Linked DNA regions of Homo sapiens: region 2 is linked to region 1. Evidence: promoter capture Hi-C in 16 types of primary human blood cells and fetal thymus (Javierre and others, 2016). All regions are on one chromosome and are shown on one strand. The core of a region is centred on a gene start or on the middle of the fragment in contact, and the rest is flanking DNA. Distances in the headings are between cores, read along the strand shown.

Region 1 (3,252 bases), core at 72-2,571:
TATTCCAAAGTGAAGTTTCCTTGTGGAACAGTAACAGGCTAGTCATGATTGACTTTGTTTCAAAATATTATATAAGTACTTTTAAAATAGTAACTTTTAACTTTTATTTTAGAATACTTGGAAGATGTAGACAAGCAAAAACAGGATACTAAAATTCCAGAGATAATCTTCAGGTTTTTTTTTTTTTTTTTCGGACAGCCTTTTGGTTATGTGAGAGGTAATATAAATTTAAAAGTGGGACCACTTAAATATTAAGTAATCTCTTATTGCAGCTCTTGGTTGGCAAGCAATAAGACACAAACCTCTGAATTATTTAAGTAGAAAATTAATTTATTAAAAGAATGGTTGGTTATGCCTCGCGTGAGTGACAGAGCCAGGGTTTTGTCTTCTATCTTCAGGGCAGGGTACAGCTGGGTATTGGAATTGTACCAAGCAGTGTTTCCCAAGGGGGCACAGAGGGAGGGCCCCTCTCCGGGCACTGTGCGGGAGCCACTTCCCCAAACAGTCCCCGTTCTGCAAGGGCCCCGGCGTTGCTGCCCCCGAGACCCGGGTGCCTGCCCCGGCGGTGCGGGTCGCGGGCCTCCGCTCTCGCCGTCCTCCCTCAGTCCCGGGCCTCCTGCATCGCGGTCGCCAGGCGCAGGCTCAGCGCGGCTGACAGCGCTCCAGCTCCCGCGCTCGCGGCCGCCTCAGGCAGCCGACCGGGTTGGGGCGGCCCCGCGCTCGGCCCGGGAGCCGATCCGCTGTGAGGGCTCCTCCATCTCCTCCCACCCCGTGACCTGCTCGACGCGCAACAGCCCGAGTTGTCTTTAACTTGCTGCGGCAGCCTCTTTGTCCCGACCCAGGGTCGGGGGCACCTCTCGGCCTGGCCCGGCCCTGCCCGTAGCCGTGTGAGCGGGGGCCGGGACTGGGCGGTCGGTCCGGGAGGGGCGCCGCGCCCGACCCCGGAGTCCCGAGCCCGAGGGGAGCGTCGCGGCCCCGCGGTGGGCTCGCCGCAGCGGAGGGGGCGCGCATCCGGGTGAGCGCCGGCGCCCCCGCCTCCCCCGCGCAGCCGCACGGGCCGCCGCCGCCGCTGCCGCCGAGCACGCAGCGCAGGGAGGACCGCGCCCGAGCGCCTGCGGGCGCCCTGCGGCGCCCGCCGCGCGACGAGCCCCAAGTGAGCGGGCAGGCGGCGCGCATGCGGGGCGGCCCGGAGTAGCGCCGCCCGAGCCCGCGAGCGGGGCGCCCGGAGTAGCCGCCGACCCGAGCCGGGCGCGGAGGCGGGGGCGGGCGCGGCGGAGCGGGGCCCGGCCGGACCCGCCCGCCCGCCGGGGGAGCCGCCGGCAGTGGCCGAGGAGCGCGCGGCGGACGGCGGCCCGAGAGTAGCGCGCTGGCCGCGGGACCGGCCGCGACCGCCGCGGCCGGCCCGGAGGACGCCTGCCGCCGCCGCCGCCGCGCGCCTAGCGAGGTGAGTGTATCGCCCGCGGCTGGGCAGTCCCGGAGCCGCAGCGCTGCGCGCGGGTCGGAGGTGGAGAAAGAGGCCCCGCCGCGGCCGCGTCCCCGGTCCCTTTGTGGCCGGCGCTGCCTGGGGCCGGGGCGCGGGCACGCTCGGCGCGGGTTCGGGTCTGGGACCCCGGTGCCGTTGGACACGCGGCGTCTCTGGTTGGCAGCTTTGGCGAGCAGCGAGTTTCCGTCCTAGTTTGACATTGAGTTAGAACCGTTTTTCTTTAGAAGACGGAAGTTTGTTTTATTGACAAAAATAAAGCTAAATATGGCTTCTGGGTTCGGCCGTGTGGTACTTGCAACCGCGGTGCCAGCCTGACCCTCGCGGCGCCACGGGGGAGGGGAAGACACGCCGGCAGCGGGGGAGGGGGCTTCCCGGCCCGCTGCCCCCGAGGAGGACCCGGACCTAAATTAGCAAATGTTTGTGGTTGGGAAGTAGCGGGCTTTAGGTAATGTAGTAGCTTTTCCGCTTTTCCTGGAAGAATGAATGAATGAGATGTCATTTACTCATCCATAATCAATACGTTGCCCATTTAAGCATTTACCAGGAATTGGGATGATTTGCATTGTCATTGCTTCTCTTATCTGGTCAGCCTTGCTAGATGAGGTTCCCTTACTCCCCAGATTTGTGACCTTGTCCTCATTCTCAAAGCCACTGAGCTAACCAACCCGTCTACCAAACTCACTTGGCATTTTTTTGGTCAAGTGGGCAATAGGCAAAGTAGTCTTTCTGAACTGTTTCTGGAGGGCAGAGAATGTCACTTTGATCATATCTTATGTTTAATACATTGCTTTATAATCGTGTCAAGAACGCTGAGAGTTAGGAGGTCTTGTCATTTCACAGATGAAATAGTGAAGGCCCTAAGAAGTTGCAACTTTTCAGGTCACAATCTGAGCAGCAGAGTTGGGATTCAAACCTAGACCTTGTTAGTCCAGTCCTCTTTACATCACATCTGTGTCCAGACCTGGACTGTCCAGCGTGGGAGCCACTAACCACATGTGACTATTAAAATTAAATTTTAAAAATTCAGCTCCTCGGTCACAGTAGCCACATTTCAAGTGTTCCATAGCTAAATGTGGTTCTTTGCTACAGTTGAACAGCCCTGGTCTAAATTATACATACATTTGTTGTGTCAGTAAATATTTACTGAATGCGATCTGTCTATGAGGCACAGTTTTAAGTTCTGGGTACATGGTGAATAAGGGAGACACAATGTCCTTGCCCTATTGGAATTGACATTTTACATGATCCTTTGAGGATGTTTCCATGGTACTCCGAGTCCTGCTATTCCAAGTGTGGATGGTGTACCAGCAGCATCCCTGTCACCTCAGACTCAAGTAATGCAGAATGTGAAGCCCCGCTGCACATCAACTGAATCAGTATCTGCTTTACCAGGATTTCAAGTTATTTGTGTGCACTTTGAAACCTGAGAAGCCTTTGTTCAGCGTGCTGGTGATAACTGCGTTTAATGACTGCTCTGCTGGTTTGTTTGGTGCCTCTTAAGCAGCAGACTGCAAAACTCTTGGGAGCACTCACCATTTATGCAAATACTTGTTAAATGCCTGGCTTTCTCAATAGAGTTTAAGCTTTATGAGAGCAGAGATTGTGGCTTCCTTTTCCAGCCATGTATCACTGAAGACTTTACAGTGCCTGGTAAGCAATAAGCACTTGGTATAAATGCTTGTTGGATAAACGAATGAGTGTGCTAGGATACTTAAGCGTGGTTGTTAGCTGGGTGTGGTGGCATGCGTCTGTAGTCCTAGCTATTCCAG
Region 2 (3,116 bases), core at 298-2,797, 120 kb before region 1:
GAGCTCCTGACCTCAGGTGATCCATCCGCCTCGGCTTCCCAAAGTGCTGGGATTACAGGCATGAGCCACTACGCCTGGCCAGGTTACTGTTTTTCTACAAAACCTTCCAAACAGCCAAGCAAGGAGTTCGGGGGGAGTTGTACAAATGCGTACTTTGAGGAAGCTCATTTTTGAGGTCTAATGTTGTCTGTAATAATTTTCCGTTGCGAAGAGCAGAAATTCTCTTCTTTATCTCTAGTGAGCAATTTCCTTTCCAGATGTTATTAGGGGAGATATCAGTCACCAAGGCCTTGGCTGGCTCCCTGATAAAAGCCCTTGCAGTATTCCACACTGCAGAACCCCAGGCTATGCCCTCCTGGATTCATACTAGAAAGATCCAAGGCTCCAAGCCACCAGGGCTGATGGATGTGACTCATCTTCCTGACCCCAGGGGAGGCGAGTGGTGTGTTTGGTGCACACTGTGCACCTGTCAGTAGTCAGCATCCTGTAGGCCAGGAAAACACTGACTCTTCTCAGGAAAGGCTTTGACGGCAGTTGGAACAGAAGTACAAGTAGACAGAGGCCACTGAGTTATGGAAGAAAACCAGGCTGGATCCAGTTCTGTGGATCCAGGAAGAAGGATCCCTCCTTTTCCTGCTCAAGCTGGTCATCAAAACAAGTAAACAACTAGCCCCCCTTTTTTGTTTTTTTAGGGTTTTAAGGTTTGCTATTACATAGGAAACATGGTAGTATACATGGTGAATACCAAAGAAGGCATAAAACATTAGTGATTTTTAAGAGGTCCAGTGGGTGGTTTCTACTGGCTCTTTCTGTCCCTCATTATTCTAGAGGAGTTCCTCCATTAAAGTCCTCTGCTATTCACCCCACAAATCCCTCAACCCCTCTCTCTCCCCCGGCCTCAATCACAGATCATTGCTTCTTTAGCTAGTTATTTACTCCTTCCCTTGTCTCATAAAAAAGTTGAGCAAGCTTATTAGAATAAGAGAATAAAGGACGAAAAGAAATGGTCAAAATAAGCAATGAAGAAGGCAAGGAAAATAGTTGATAGAGCCAGCAATAAGATGAGCACATGGAAACATCTATCATATGATGTTATTCAGTTACTACAAGCGGGCATGAGCCAAGAGTCCTAGGAGCCAAGGAAATGAGAAATATAACCAAGCAGAACATACAAGTCAGGAAAACTCTGCCTTTCTAATGCACAGACCAGAGGGGATGTGGGTGATCCCAGTCCCGAGTTAAGTGTTTCTCTGACATTTTCTTATTTGATCCTGACAATCTCGTGGGGTGGACATTATTATAACACTCATTTTACAGATAAGGAAACTAAGAATTCAAGAGTAAGTTCGTAATGTGCCCAAGACTACAGTTAGTGAGATGCAGAAATGAGATTCAAACCCAGGCTATCAGGCTCCATGTCTGGGTCCTGAATGAAAAAGCTCACCCTACAGGACTGGGGTGGGGGAGTGGGGTTCTGTGGGACATTTCTGAGACAAATGTAATAGGCATTTTTGTAGGTCCATATCTCCTGACCTCTTTCAATCCAATTCCTTAATATGGGCACAAAAGCATAAACCCTGTTGAAATTCAGCAAAAGCAATTCCTTGAAGCCAAACAATTTGTGCAGGTGCATAGTTCTTTGATAACCTAATTTCCTTCTCTATTTACATAAATGAATACTGCAGATTCTATCAGGAATTATAACAACAGGTATTTATTCAAGCCATAGTCAGTCATTCAATGCATCCGCAGCCCTCTCTATTAAGATTTATACCCCACTAGAACCTCAAAGCTGAAGTCTTTGGTCTTCTCACTCTCAGGCTTCCTAACCTCTACAGAGAAAATACTCTTAAATACACAGCCCTCCGGGACAACTGAACACACAATGAAGACCTCTATTAAGAACATTTACAGGACAACTTTACCTGTCCATGGTTCTTCTCTTCTATATTCTTTGTTAGATGTTTTAGGAATTGGGTACTTCCTCTATTCAAGACCGCATACCATTTAGGCAGCATTTCTCAAACTTTCAGCATCTGTAAGCCAGTGCAAGCTAATGCAAAGCACTAACTTTGGGTAAGATTTCATCACAATTTTTAGTAATAAAAATATCTCATTCTTTTTGAAAGCTTTTTTATTATGAAGAAATGCAAACATATACCAAAGGCAGAATAGTATAAAGAACCCCCATGGACTTATCACTCAGCTTCAACTATAACTGACTCATGGCCAATCTTATTTCAACACGATTCTCATCCACTTCCTCTCTCTCATATCATTCTGAAGCAAATCCCAGATGTCATATCATTCCATCCATAAATATTTCAGTAGGTGTCTCTAAAAATATGAATTATTTTAACATTACAATAGCATAATCACAACTATTTGTGAGAATTCCAAAATATTATCAAATATCAAAATATATCAGATTCCCAAATGTCTCAAAATTTTAAAGTTTTTTTTGTTGTTGTTTGAATGAGGATCCAAATAAGGCCCACACATTCCCATCAGATAGAATATTATTTTAAATGACACTATTGTTTCATGCATTTGTAAGAGGGCATAATTTGTAATCTCTCCCCAGGATATCTGTCCTATTTGATAATGGGGTCAAGTTCCATAGTCCATTGATTTCTTTCGTTACCCTTTATTTTTACTAAGTTAAACTCTCCCAATTTACAGTCACTGGAAAGAGTAACAAATATCTGGTATCTTTTTCCAATGACTATGGATTCAGAAATTAAGAGATTTCTTACTGCAAACATGTTTAGCCCTCCACCAGGTGCCAAATCAATCATGAAACACATTTAAAATTTGGACAGATCCATGCTTTAACTTGGGAGATGGGGGAAAATGGGTCCCCCTCACCTACAGGGACTGCCTTCTGGCTCTGAAGAGCATATTTTCAACGTTACAGGTCGTTTTAAACCATGCCTAATACCAGATTAAGAAAGAGTCAAACTCCAGTCAGAGCAGACTGGACCTGAGTTTGGTCTTAAGAGGATTTCTCAAGTCCAGCTAATTGTTTTTCTCTTAAAGTGTCTGAGTTTTTCTTTTGGATCCTGCAGACCAATACCAGAACTGACCTCTTATCAGAGGCAAATGACCAGTAGATA

What was found. Contacts are between HindIII fragments. The CHiCAGO score rates a contact against its expected background, and 5 or more counts as called.
Region 2: a fragment that was not itself captured here is called in contact with the fragment with the promoter of GALNT1 in region 1 in 2 of 17 cell types (M1 macrophages and M0 macrophages); the score reaches 5.5 in M1 macrophages.

Annotation. Positions count from the first base shown.
Region 1 is chr18:35,580,419-35,583,670 of GRCh38, forward strand. It overlaps GALNT1 (polypeptide N-acetylgalactosaminyltransferase 1), which reads left to right and starts at 1,322. Exons shown (of 12, transcript NM_020474.4): 1 at 1,322-1,444. RefSeq lists a silencer at 364-1,063. The HindIII fragment of the contact is 12,017 bases long and covers 1-3,064 here.
Region 2 is chr18:35,462,917-35,466,032 of GRCh38, forward strand. The region is part of intron 1 of ZNF24TR (ZNF24 transcription regulator); the gene reads right to left. Among named protein-coding and RNA genes, the nearest start is that of ZNF24TR, 2.7 kb to the right of the region's middle. RefSeq lists an enhancer at 165-309 and a cis regulatory region at 228-245. The HindIII fragment of the contact is 1,160 bases long and covers 968-2,127 here.